3 separate regions of the Homo sapiens genome follow, and all the other regions are linked to region 2. Evidence: promoter capture Hi-C in human tissues and cell types (Jung and others, 2019). All regions are on one chromosome and are shown on one strand. The core of a region is centred on a gene start or on the middle of the fragment in contact, and the rest is flanking DNA. Distances in the headings are between cores, read along the strand shown. Region 1 holds the start of LINC01081 (long intergenic non-protein coding RNA 1081). Region 2 holds the start of FOXF1 (forkhead box F1). Region 3 has its middle 30 kb from the start of LINC00917.

The links. The method cuts DNA at HindIII sites, captures the fragments that hold promoters and counts their contacts. A contact is called where the count stands out against the background at its distance.
Region 1: a fragment that was not itself captured here is called in contact with the fragment with the promoter of FOXF1 in region 2 in 3 of the 25 tissues and cell types used here (H1 embryonic stem cells, mesendoderm cells and neural progenitor cells).
Region 3: a contact is called between a fragment that was not itself captured here and the fragment with the promoter of FOXF1 in region 2, in 1 of the 25 tissues and cell types used here (H1 embryonic stem cells).

The regions. Positions count from the first base shown.
Region 1 is chr16:86,284,848-86,289,170 of GRCh38, reverse strand. LINC01081 (long intergenic non-protein coding RNA 1081) reads left to right here and starts at 2,924. Exons shown (of 6, transcript NR_104139.1): 1 at 2,924-3,117. It overlaps LINC02135 (long intergenic non-protein coding RNA 2135), which reads right to left and starts at 2,740. Exons shown (of 3, transcript NR_038438.1): 1 at 2,622-2,740. RefSeq lists an enhancer at 3,335-4,020. The HindIII fragment of the contact is 9,125 bases long and covers 1-4,323 here.
Region 2 is chr16:86,508,309-86,512,621 of GRCh38, reverse strand. FOXF1 (forkhead box F1) reads right to left here and starts at 2,095. Exons shown (of 2, transcript NM_001451.3): 1 at 1,074-2,095. The coding sequence starts at 2,052. FENDRR (FOXF1 adjacent non-coding developmental regulatory RNA) reads left to right here and starts at 3,762. Exons shown (of 4, transcript NR_033925.1): 1 at 3,762-3,967. RefSeq lists an enhancer at 1-602. The HindIII fragment of the contact is 9,827 bases long and covers 1-4,313 here.
Region 3 is chr16:86,372,839-86,377,528 of GRCh38, reverse strand. No RefSeq gene overlaps it. Among named protein-coding and RNA genes, the nearest start is that of LINC00917, 30 kb to the right of the region's middle. RefSeq lists an enhancer at 1-351. The HindIII fragment of the contact is 9,034 bases long and covers 1-4,690 here.

The DNA of each region.
Region 1 (4,323 bases), core at 746-3,245, 220 kb after region 2:
GCCTCCAGCCTTGCTGGGATCTGGAGGGGTGTGAGCGTCCCGCGGGTGGGCCGGCATTTCAGGGCTCCATGCGTGGGCTTTGGAGAGGCGGCAAGCCTGAGGTATTCTGGCAAACTGGACATCAATCTGTGCAATTCAGTGAATGCGGTTGTTTGTGTGAAGCCATGTCATGTTCTGCTCCCCACAAGAGCAGAGCAGTGGGGACCTGGAGCGGCTTGGATTTTTGCGGCTGAGGTTGGGCTAACAGCAAAGACTGGGGAGCTGCCTCCCTTAGGGGAGACTCCAGATGGAATTGTCAGCTGTGGCAGACCCAGGGCAGGCAGGCTGAGTTCTAGGGGAGGGAGCAGTTACAGCAGAGGGAGCACCGCTTCCTGCTCAGGCACCCCCACCTCTATAGGTAGACCGAGCAGCAGCTTACGACCAAACACAGTCCCCAGTGAGAGGCAAGAAAATCGAATTTCAGTTCACTTCTCCATCATAGCCAAGTGGTGAATACTATAACAAGAATGACACCGACCAACCCTGCCTATGAACCAAGCAGTGTTCTAAACTCTCCCGCGTGAACTCAATTTGCAACCACTCTTTGGGGCAGGGAGGCATGGCAGGGGCTCTTCTGTACAGCACAGAGACTGCCTGCAGATTCTATATCATCTGAGGTTGCACATAATTCCATTCCACCCCCAGGCATCCATCCTTGTTCATTTTATTTGAGAAAAAAAAAAGTCCAAAATATTACTCTTTTGTCCCCTCTTTTTACAAAACGATGAATGCTCAGTGCCCACGTTTCAGGCATCACAAAGAAATGACTTAAGTTCAAGGTCAAGAGACAGTTCTGTCCCCGCTGACCCAGAGATGTCCTTTGCTGATGCTCTGGGACGCCTTTTCAAGATGCTGTCTGGGGAGGGATGAAGTCAGAGTTTTGATCTCTTTAAAGTTTGATTTCTTTACCAAAGTACCACGTTTCTATACCATCTGTCCTGAAAGTGTCTTTGGCTGGGCTCACCATGTTCCCTGGCCTGTGGTCCTCTGATTGGAAATGGGTTTTCATGAAACAAACGGAAGGGGAGGGTGGGCAGACTGGAGAAGTTTGTAGCCTGTTTCTGGTTTTCTGCGACTTTCATTCTGGCCCCTCCTGGCTCTGTCATCCCCGGTCCCATCAGCACCGTCCAGACCAGACCTAGCGTAGCAGGTCCACACACCCGGGATGGCTCAGCACTGACCCTGCCTTCTCTTGCTCCCCAGGGAGGGCTCCCGGAGTAAAGCCTGAGGAACTCCACCTTTACAAGGTGATCTTCAGCGTTCAACAAACTTTGCTTCTCTGGCCACCTCCTTAATCAACTGCAGCCTTTTTCTATTTCTAGCCTGAAACAAACTCCACAAACACTGGCTCTTTCTTCATCTTCCTCCCTTTCCAATGATAATACTGGACAAAAATGGGACAATCTGTAATTTTTGCCCATTTTCTTAGGAATTTTTCCCCTCTAGTTAAAAATCAATCAATCAATCACACACACACACACACACACACACACACGCACGCACGCACGCACGCACACCATGAATTGAGTCAGGGTTCCCTCTGATCATCCCCACCGCGCTCTTCCTTTTGTCTGAAAGGGGCTGGGCAATGATAATTGTGCTTCTGGGGTGAGAGGTGTGGTGTGGGGGGATTCGCAGCAGAGGCTGCGGCAGCTGGTGGGGGGTCCTCCTTCCTGGTCCTCCGATGACTCCGACGACGACGAGGAGCTCTGAAGGGAGACCAGGAGGCGTCTCCACTGACCATGGGGCCCAGCAGCGCGGGGCCCGGGGCCAGCCCCGACCTTCCCCTCCACCAGCGGACGGACCCACAGCCTGAAGGCGGCTGGCACCAGAGGGGCCCCGGCAGGAGCCGATGGGCTGCGAGCGCGCTGGCGAGGGGCGCAGGAGAATGGAACGGGGACAGGGGAGAGGCAGAAGGAGGAGGAGAGGGAAGCCTGGAGAAGAGGAGAGCGCAGAACTGAGGAGCGGGGCAGAAAACAGAGGGAGAGTTGCAGACCGGGCTGAGCTGCAGCGGAGCGCGGGAGTGAGCGGCGGCGGGAAAGCTGGGGTTAGGGGGCCAGGACGTCGCGGGCGAGGGGCGGTGGTGAGTGCAGCCCAAGGGCGCACCGTCCCTGCAACAGCTTCGCGGGCGGGAACAGCAGGAAGGAGTGAGCCTTGGGCGGGCGGTGGGTTTCAGAGGAGGGAGGGCCGAGCAGCTGCAGGGGACAGAGGGGCAGAAAGACAGGGAGGCGGGGAGAAGGTAGGGAGCGGTTCTGGGTAACTACTTCGCTTCGGAAACCGCCCGGGTCTCAGGCCCCAAGGGCATCCCCCTCCTCCCAGATCCCCGTCTTGGGTCCCTGGACCCAAGTCCCGTGGAAGGCGACACCCGCGTCCCAGACCGCCGCGGCGGCTGCTGCCCCCACACGTCTGGTTCGGCTGGCTCTCCCCTGCGAGGGTCGGGGTTTCTGGAGCCCTGCGCACTGGGCTCCCCTTGCCCGCAGCGCCCCTGCGGCCCCTCCTCCCGCTGGCCTGGGATCCCGGAGACGCAGGACGACCTCGGTGCGCGAAGGGGCGGGGGGCGCGTGGGGTCCCTGGGGGCACACCTGCTCACTCATCCCTTCCCGTCTGAGGTCTTCGCTGATGCCAGCTTCACAGGCACGGGCATCAAGGCCCTGAGACGGGAGAAAGGGTAGGCCTCGCAGGTGCACGTGGGAGAGGCTGCACCTAAGCCCCCGCACCAGCCCTGGACCACCAGGGCGCAGGGCCCGAGGTGCGTGACAAAGGGGTGACCTCACCTGTAACAAGTGAACAAGCGTTGACACCCGCGCAGGCTCCAGTGTTCCAACGGCGGAGTCATATGAATCATCCTGATGCTTAATAAACAGATCCCAGAAGGAGCCTGGACATATTAGATCAGAACTTCCCAGGGAGCGGCCCAGGGATCTGGATTTCCAGTGCATGCCCTGCGGTGACCCTCACTCCAGAAAGCTCAGGCCCCACTGAGCTCCAGTGTTCTATCTCCAGACATGGATTACACCCGGGGCTACACAGCGAGACAGCGAACCTGTGCTGGGTCACCAGGTTGAGGGTGGTGGTGAGGTTAGTCTCAAAGCCCAGCCTAGTGGGGCTTCATGGCTCTGTTTTAGCCAAGGGGCTCTTGGATTGTCCCCGGAGGGGTCAAGGGTCTTTCCGCTGTCCTATTCAAAGTGTTTTAGGGTGAAATAATCATGATAATAGTCACAGCACCTGCTACGAATGAAGCAGGCGCTTATAGTCTAGAGAGCTACGGACTTTTGTGAATATTCTGTTTTAATCCTCACAATTGACCTTGGGAGGAAGGTACTATTTATCATCGCACTTCACTGATATGCAAACTGAGGTGCGACCAGGTTATTTTATTTTCTCCAAGTCCTGAAATGGTGCGCTGGGGCTCCCCAGCTCTACCCACAGGTACCTGCCTCCCTCCGGAAGGTGTGGACAGCACAGTGGTGGGCGGCCCAGCCCGGAGGGGGGACTTTGTGCTTCCATAGGAAGGGGTCTCAGAGCCTAGCATCTGGGTGTCCACCCAGGAAGGTGGGTGGGGCACAAGGTGGTCTCTGTTGTCCCTGCAGCTTCTGGGAACCCAGATGAAAGGCAGGAGTGTGGAGCACAGACCTGGGGTCTCTGTAGAATGTGCTGGAGGGTACCAGGAGCTAAAACTATGTGGAGCTGGGTGGGCCCAATAGAGGAGAAGGGAATAGGGGAGGGAGATTCATGAACTAAGTCCAGAGGTGGGGGATGGGAAGGGGAGGAAAGAGCTGATGGCTTTGGAACAGTGCTACTGAGAGAGGCAGGCACTGGGTCTCGGCACCACAGCGTGCCTTTGGTGGTCTCAGGTTCCATACAGGAACCCTGAAACGAAACAGGGAATGCCCTAAAGTGGCACCTCATATACTCTCCAGGTTTCTGGCAGCTCAGCAGTTGGGCTGGGGGTGCTTTCCTGTGCCCAATCCCTGGCACCCTTCCCACACCACCCCCACCCCCATAATGCAGCAGCAGAGAACCTCCATCTCACCGATGGGGGAACTGAGGCCCAAAGAGGTTGAACAGGGAGCCGATGGCCTGGAGCTTGCCTCCTTCCAAGGTTGTGAGTTGAATGGAATGGTCCGAAAGCCGGAGGTGTCCGCTATGGATCACCACCCTAACACTAAAACAGCAGCGGTATGACATTTATCAGATTCCTCCGAAATGCCAAGAACTGTGCTGGCAACTTTGCATTTTTATCTCATTAAATTGTCATGACAATCCTATGAAGTACTCTTAGTC
Region 2 (4,313 bases), core at 846-3,345:
AGGGAGACCAAGTGGAGGGCCCCTAACGCCCATGGCCGTCACCGCCAGGGCAGCCACCACCACCCCCAACCTCAGAGGCTACGACTGCCGGCGGGGTTGAAGGAGAGGCCAGTGCAGGGCCAGCGCCGGGCCAGCAGCAGGGGTGAGAAGAAGCTTCTCCAGAGAACAGGCCCCGGAGCCGGGGAGTCCCCCGCAGAGAGGCTGCCTAAGGCCTCCAGGCCTGGCTCCTGCCTCCTGGGGCTGCTGACAGCTGACCCTGGACTGGCCCTGGCAAGCTCACTCCAGCTTTTTCCAGAGCTGGGCCTGCAGGCTGCGGGGGGCCTGGGGCAGAATCAGGAGGCGAGGCTGCTGCATCTCCCTTGGCAGATGCTTCTGCATGTTCGGGGTATTGGGGTATCAGGGGTGTTGGGGGTGTGGGGACCTGAAAACTTGGATCCTAAAAAACAAGGAGCCCCCATGGCCCGGTCTGCAGCTCTGACCCTCCGGGGCCTGGCCACGGCACCCTCCTGCCTCAGTCACCACAAAATGCCCCTGGACTCAGCTGTGGGTCTGCCAGGTCTGGTCCCCTGAAAGGCCGGGGCTGAGCCTCTGAGCGCTGGCCCAGCGGCTTTGGGCCTAACACCTTCCGTTCCGCCCAGCCCCAGGCAGAGGCAGCCCTCCAGGCAGCCTGAGGGCCACCACCAGGGAGGGACAGCCATCTGGCCAGCGCTGGGAGCCTTGGGTCCATCCCAGGATCTTTCCAAGCTGTGAGGGGACTTAAGGGACACAAAAGGACTTAGGGCACTGGGGTCTGGGACATCTGGCTCAGGACCAGCCTACCTGGTCAGGCCTGGAGCAGCTGGCAGCTGGAGTTCGAACAGAAAGAGAAACAGATTGGCCCAAACTAGGGTCAAGAGCGGTAGTCACTCTTCGAAGGGGGAGAGGTGGGGCCAAGAGACACCTTGGGGAGCTGGTGCCTCCCCTCAGCCTTGGGGTTCCGACCACAGAAGTGGAGGGGCTCGCCCCAGCTGGGTCCCGCTGCCACTCAGACTCGACTTCCCGGGGACCAGGGCGCCCTCGGCCTCCCCACTCACCTTGCAGCTCGGCTGGGGCGTTGTGGCTGTTCTGGTGCAGATACGGCTGCTCCAGGGAGTGCGTGGAGAGGCTGCCGGACAGGGGGTTGGCCGCGGGGTTACAGGGGGACAGGGGCTGCTGCTTGATATAAGAGGCGCCGCTGTTGAGCGCCGCGGACGCCGAGGGCGGCCAGGCCGCCGCCGAGCCCGAGTAGACGGCGTGCGGCTCCATGACCCCACCGGCGCCGGTGGGCAGCAGCGGGGAGGCGGGCACCGAGCTGTCGTGGTGCGGGTACTCGCCGGCCGCCGCGCCGCCGCAGCCGCCCATGTACGAGTGGCCGCCGTTGGAAGGCAGGTGGGGCACCGAGTGGCTGGGCAGGGCCATGCCGTCCACGTTGCCCGGCAAGTGGCCGTTCATCATGCCCAGGCCGCCCTCCAGCGCCAGGCTGTTGGGCGGGCACGAGAGGCCGCCGGCCGAGCCCTGGAAGCCGTAGGTGTCCGGGAGGTGGTTGAAGCCGAGCCCGTTCATCATGCTGTACATGGGCTTGAGCGCCTGGCATTTCCTTCGGAAGCCGCGCGGCCGCCGCCGAAAGGAGCCCTCCTCGAACATGAACTCGCTGGCCGGGTCGATGGTCCAGTAGTGGCCCTTGCCGGGCCGCCCAAGGCCCTTGGGTAGCTTGATGAAGCACTCGTTGAGCGAGAGGTTGTGGCGCACGGAGTTCTTCCAGCCCTGGTAGGAGCCCCGGAAGAAGGGGAAGCGGCTCTGCAGGAACTGGTAGATCTCGCTCAGCGTCAGGCGCTTGGTGGGTGAACTCTGGATGGCCATGACGATGAGCGCGATGTAGGAATAGGGCGGCTTCTCCGGGCGCCGGATGCCGGCGTTGGTCTTCTTGGCCTTGGACGGGCCGGACGACGCGGGGTCCATGGCCGCGCCGCCTCCCCCGCCGCCGCCGCCGCCGCCGCCGTGCGGTGGCTGCTGCTTCTCGGGCGCCGAAGACATCGGGTGGCTGCTGCCGCCGCCGCCGCTGCCGCCGCTGCTCTGCGCCGCGGACGGGCCGGGAGGAGGAGGAGGAGGAGGAGGAAGAGGACGACGGGGGGGAGGAGGGCGAAGGGGAGGGGGCTGCGCGCGCGGGGCTGGCTGCACCTCTGCCGTCATCGGCGGCCACTTCTCCCGAGCGAGCCGCGGCGCGCCCGCCCCCGCGCTCCCGCCCGCCCTCCCCGAGGAGCTGCTGGATCCGCCGGCGGTTGGCTCAGAGCCCCTCTCTCTCCAACTCCCGCCTCCCCCACCTCTCTCCTCCCTCTTTCTTTCTCGCCCTCCCACAAGGAAAGGAGCCGAGCTGAGGCCGAGGGCAGCCCGGGCGAAGGCCGTGAGGAAGCTACCCCCGCCGGTATTTTTTGGGGGGAGGCACCACCTCCAGGTCTTACGGCCGTGCGCCCCAGCCGGGAGCAGCCCTGAGTCCCCGCCGCCCGCGGCGCTCGGCTCCGAGATTCCGGGCGAGGCAGCCTTCACTCCATCTCCGCTCGGCTGCGTCTCGCGGGTCGGCCTAAGACCCTCCCGGAGTTCCCTCCCTCCGTCCCTGCCCCCCTCGGGCCCCCGCGTTGGTGGGCGCTTAAAGAGCCCCCACTCTCGCCGCCCCGCGGCCGCCAGCAGAATCCGCCCCGCCTCCACCAACCTGGCGAGCAAGTGTTAATGCGCCCTCCGCCCGCGGTTCAGCCCCGGTGCGCGCTGGACCCCGCCTTCCCCGCCCGGGCGGCGCGGCGGGAAACGCTCCCTGGGCCGGGGCCTTCCCCGACGCGCACAGCCCTGTAGCAAATCGCAAGTGCGGCGGCCTCCCGGTCGTGACCATCGCAGGCACAGCCGGCTCGACTCCGGTCCTCGCGGCCGGCCGGCTAAGTTCCCGCGAGGGACCGCCTACCCACTCTCCCCGCCCCGGGAAGAACTGCGCCGCTCCCGGGATTTTTCGGACTCGCCCAGCAGCTTGCGAGCGGGCGGGCAGCCGCCGGGGCAGAGCGCAGGCGGAAAACGAAAGCGCAGCACGAGTCGCGGCCGCTTTGTCTCGGGCGCCGCGGGCCTGACGGGGGCGAGTGAGAACCCGCTGGCCCAGAGGCGACCCAGACCGCACAGGCCCCTGAATAAGCGGCGTGCTCAGTCACTCACCCGTGCGCGCACACCCTCGCGCTCTTGTCCACACATTAGCACACACATACATGTCTTGATGCACATGCAAACCCGGTAAATTACGCAAACAGACGTGTAAACACACCCATGCGTGTGTGCACACTCATATGCAGAGGGCGCTCAGGCATGTGCGCACCCACTAATGCACTCGTTGACACGGAAGCTTAAGGCCCACAGGAGCTTAAGTTCGCACTCACTCCCACTCACGCGTACACACGCCACGCTCGGATCTGAACTCACACGTAGTTCAGTTGCCCTCCCCCACCCCCAACACACACTGAAAACCCGCCTATTTGGCCCCGCGGCCCCGTTTTCAAAGCGCAGGTTCCGATTTCCCGAGAGATGGCAAAGGCCCTGGCAGGAAGTTTACAGGGTTTAACGTAAACAAGTTCTGGGGGATTCTTTAATAATAATAATAGAGAATTCCGCGTGCGCAGGGCGGGAGGGGGGAGTTGGCCTAATGCCCCTGTGGGCTCGGCCTGCCGCCGCCGCGGGGCCTCTGACACTGCGCGCCAGGCCAGGTTCCTGAGAGCAGACAGCGCGGGCTGGGAGCGCCGGCAAGGGCGGCCCTCGCGCACCTGGCTGCCAGCCCGCAGGGGGCTCGCACGCAGACCTGCCCTTGCCACCTCAGCGCTCGGGTGCGGGCTGGGGGCGGTGGAGCCACGAAAGGTGGTGCCGAGAGCGGAGCGCAGGACAGCGCAGGAGCCCCGGCGCATCGCGGCGCGCACAGACCCAGGTGAGTGCTGCTCTCGCAGCGACTGCTGGCCGGGCGCGGCCTCTCCCTCCAGGGTTCCGAGTTGAGAAGAGGGGGGCGAGGGGTGTTTTCGCGGGTCATCGCGAAGAGCCTAGAGGCCAAGCCCCAGCGCGAGCTGGGGCGAGAGGCGTGTGCCGGGCTCGCAGCACGGCCCGCGGCGCGGCGCGTTCAAAGCCTACCCGCCTCTCGGTTTTCTCCGGACTCCTTGTCTCCCGCTAACTACCCGCCCCCACCTTCCTGGCTCGGACGCCTTCATTTTCGGCGGGAGACGCCTGTCGCCTTCGGGGCGCCTGGCACGTCGGTGAGAGGAGCTGGGGGGCTCGCCGGC
Region 3 (4,690 bases), core at 913-3,412, 140 kb after region 2:
GCTGCTTGTCAGCTCCTGCTTCTCCCACACCTCGGCTCCTTTCTTTGGGTTCCACACATGTCAGCGTTCCCACCCGTCAATCAGTCATCAACTCAAGTATTTGTTAAGCCAGACACTGCCCCAGGCTAGTAATAATAATAACAACAACAATGACCACAATAGTGAGGATCTTAAAAACTCCCTGGGCTCAAATGCATCCATAACCTCATTTAATGATCACAACAATTTTTTGAAATGGATACTATTGTTATCAGCTTTTATAGATGAGAAAGCTGGGTCACAGAGAGATGAAAGGACTCACGCATTGTCATGTAGTAAGTGTTGGAGGCTGAGTTTGGTAACTTACGTGAGCCCATCTGCCTAGCTCTAGACCATTTTGGCTCATGGAGGGACATGCGGGTGGAAAGTACAGAGTGCTGACCATCTAGGCTTAGTGATCTCAAAAAGAGACATGAAGAAACAGTTTGCCTTCTTCCATTGGAAATTATGAAAGCAGCAAATGACAGCTGGAACCATGGCAACCATTTCGTGATATGGAGGAAGTGGCTGACATACTGAGGATGGTCATTTATGGAAGGAAATGGGCCCAACTGTTTACACACAGCAGAAAAAAACAAGGAAGTGTAGGGACATAATTAATAAATAAAAATACAAAAAAAAAAAAAAAGAAATACAAGACTCTCTTGTTGGCCTTGAAGACACCAGCTGCTATGAGCTTTATAGCTTCAGGGGAAACAATTCTGCCAATAATCTGAGGGCACTTGGAGGAGAATCGTTCCCCAGTTGGGTGTCTGATGAGAATGTGGCCCAGCTGACACCCTGACTGAGCCTTGTGATACCCCGAGCCGGGCACCAGCAAAGCTGCACTCAGACTCTTGACCCACAGAAACTGAGTTAATAAATGTGTGTTGTCTTAAGCCACTAAATTTGTGGTAAATTGTTACACAGTAATAGAAAAACAATACAATGCTTATGGCTAGAACATTTAAACAGTACAGAAAGGAAGACTATGCGAGGTCCAAGTCTGGCTCGTCTCATTCCCCTCATCTCTCTGCAGTGCCTGATGTCCCCTTTCAGAGTCTCTCTAATGTGCATGATAGCCTCAAAGGTGGTAAGGGTTTGTTTTCATGTGTATGTAAGTGATTTCCCCCTTTTACTGCAATAGAATATGTATTACACATGCCTTAAAGAAACCTTTTTTTTTTTAATTTAGCAATGCATTTTACAGCTCTTTTTATTAGCTCTCTCAGGCCTCCTGGATTCTCATTCTTTAATGAAAATGGGTCTGACTAGACCTTTTCCTCCTCAATTCAGAGCATTTTCTCTGGAGAAATGGACTGCAACCAATCTTCCCATTCCAATTTCCGACGGGTGAAGGTTTGGTAGTACCGGCGATAACACTGACTTTCAGGTCTCTGAAAATGATTAGGTCAGCTGATGGATGCTTAGAGCCTATAAAATTCACGAGGCTTCAGATTGTTTCCAGACATTCCAGAGGGAAGAGCAGTGGAAGGATCGTGAGCTTCAAGGCTGTGCCCGCAGAGGAGGAAGAATATGTCACTTCATGGAGGCAGGAGAGGGAGAGAGTAAGTGACTCCACTTTGCTGCTGGGGTACTTTGGCAATTTGAATGCGTTTCGTTGGATTTGTTTTAATTACAAAAGGACCATATGATTCTTTAATTAGCCCAGCAATTCAGAAGCAGATACATTTTAAAAGACAAGCTAGAAATTTGCCTATATACTGGTGAAAGCACACCAAGGGATATGTTCAGGAATAGAATTGCAACATTGCTGGTCATCACCCCCAAACAGAAAGTCTCCCAAAGTCCATTCAAAGAGGACCAGTTAAATACAGCACTTTACTCCCGCATGTGAGGATACCGGACAGCTGTTAGAAACAAAGATGTGCTGGTGTTTAGATGTAGTGAAATATTGTGCAGCAGCGAGAATGAATGAGTCACAACCACAGGCTGCAACACAAATGAATGTCACCTACTCAATGTTGAGTCAAGGAATCTAGAAACAAAAGAACATACTGTATGATTTCATTTATGTATAAAAGCATGAACATAGGCAGAGGGAATGAATACTGTATGGAAGTCAGGATAGTGGTTACTCCGACAGGGCAGGTTTCAGAGAAGGGAGGGCTTCTGGGAGTCGGTGATGTCTGTTTCTCAATTTGGGTGCTGGTTACCTAGGTCACAGCAGCCCCAGGAGACCCATACTGTGACCTAAAGAAGAAAATCCATCTCCCACATGAGCCAGCATGAACACATCCGTGGCAAAAAACGAACATGAGCATGTTCAGTTGACAAAATTCATCCTGTGGCACATTTATGATACGTGTACTTTTGTGTATTTCAATTAGAAATTTTAAAATGTGGTACCTCTTGTAATGACAAAATGCGCCCACATTTGTAACTCAAAACATAGCACATTGTTACAAAATGGTACACTTAGAAATCCAGTGAAAATGGCTATGGATGATTCCAAGTCCCAAAATAAAATAGTTTCATTAAAGAAGGAATTCAGGAGGCCCAAGGGAGCTAATAAAAAAGGGTCATAAGACGCATCCTTAAATGGAAACAGCAGCTTGCGGCCAAACCAGGAAGAACAGAAAGAAGTATCAAGGAAATACAGGTTTGTGTCCTAGCAACAGCCCCAGCTCATATCTCTTTGGCTAGAATGGTGTCACATGACTACTTCTAGCTGCAAGAGAGCCTGGGAAATGTACACTTGCTGAGTTCTGTTGATGAGGAGACAACTGAAAGGATCTTGAGGACATAATGAACTGTCTCCACCACGCTCATAAAAAACAAGACTCACAAAATGCATCTGTTTTCAGTGGGTCACCAGGGATGAGGAAAAAAGGTGCCTTCAGGTTTGAAGTCTGGGTTCTCGGAGGCCTGCACGTGTCTTCTTGACCATCCCATTCATGGGTTCCAGCCACCGGGACTTTCAGGATTGACTGACTATTCAGAGTTATTAGGAATTAAAGCAATTAAGGGCAATTGAGACCAGGAGGAAGAGAAATGACCATTTCTCAAGTACCTCCTGCATGTAAAGCAGTGTGCCTCTGGAAGTTCTCACAATGCCACATGCACCACAAGGCCACATGCACCACAGCCTGGAAAGTGATTTTATAGACAAGGCTACTGGCGGTGAGCACCACGTGCTGATGATGGTAATTTTTATCCGGTGGGTCTTTTATCGGGTGGGTATTTCATGCTGGATGCCACACATCCATGCCCTGTGCCTACATCCCCATAACCATGGTTCTGTGAAGGACGTGACCCTTGGACAAGCAAGGAAAGGAATCCCAGAGAGGCTAACAGCCTGCACAAACTCAAACAGCAGGAATTGAGAACTCAACTCTGTCTCCAAATGTCAGCTCCCAGCCTGCCACCACCCCAACTATCAGAGGCAATTTAGCAGGTTACGGGCCAAGTGGGCAATGCCCTGGAAGACTCTGGAAGGAAACCGAGGACCCAAAAGGTTAAGGAAGCTGGATAAAGCCACACAGTTGCTGGCAGTGGGGGCCAGTACTGAAACCCAGGTCCACTTGATTCCACGGATCGTGCTTTCCCCACCGTGTTCCTGTACCTTTTTCTGTCCATTCACCTGACCCTGGTGGAGCCAAGCAAGCCCTCAGCCCTAAGAGCCATGGAGGGCCAGGTTCTGCATGGAGAATGAGCTCCACATTTCTGGTGCAATCAGTCCTTAGGCATATTAAGGGTCAACCGAAGGGCTCCCCAGAGAGACCCAGAGGTCTGGATTCACAGCAAGGACCCTGTGCCGCCTGCTCCTCCCTGGATCAGATCCTTTGGGCCTCCCATGGTCCAGGTTGCCACTAGGGCACATATGTTGTGCATGTCCACATGTGTGGTGCCTATGCTGCCCGCCACATCCGTCCTTGCTGAAAGATGCACCGAAGCTGGCAGAGACAGCACCTGCAAACGGACCCATGGTGTCCTCTAGCCGCTCTCGGCTGTCGGCTTTTGTCCTGGGCCGCCCTTGCTAATGAGGAGCCCAGGGAAGCCCAGCCGTCATGCCTTGTTATCTTCACTCCTTCTCCAGAAGATCTGGTTTCCCGTCATGTCTTGCCCTGGCCCCTCACAGGCTATTGTGGAATATACAGAGACGCAAAGCTCTTTCGGGATGATTTATGAACCCCTTGCTGGGGGCCCATCTGTCTCCAGGAGACCCCCACTGCTGAAGCCAGGTATTACTGGGGTCACGACCCCGGGAAGGCCACCAGAGGTCAGATAAGGATGGTGTTGAGTCTATCAGCGACCCCTCTGTTGGACAGACCTCGGCGTGATGGGGCTCTGCTTGAGGAATTAGTGAGATTTTTCAGGGGGTCTGTGAGGGAGAGGAGGGGGCATTGCTGGCTGGGGTCACAGGGTCACTGTGCCTCGGTGACTGGGTGAATTTTAGGTCATGAGCTTGCCCCGTGGCTCTGCCAGGCTGCTCACGGATAGGATGGTGCAGGGTCTAGCTTACCCCACAGAGCAATCCCAAGGAACTATGGAGGCAGGGGCAGGTGATTTGAGTTCAAGCTCTAGCACAGTGCCTAGCACAGAGTAGGTGCTCAATAAAGAAGAGCGGAATGAATGAATGCAGGCGTGAGTGAAGACCTTGCTGTATAACCTCGAGGTGGTGCCCATGACTGGTCTCGAGCTGCCCAGT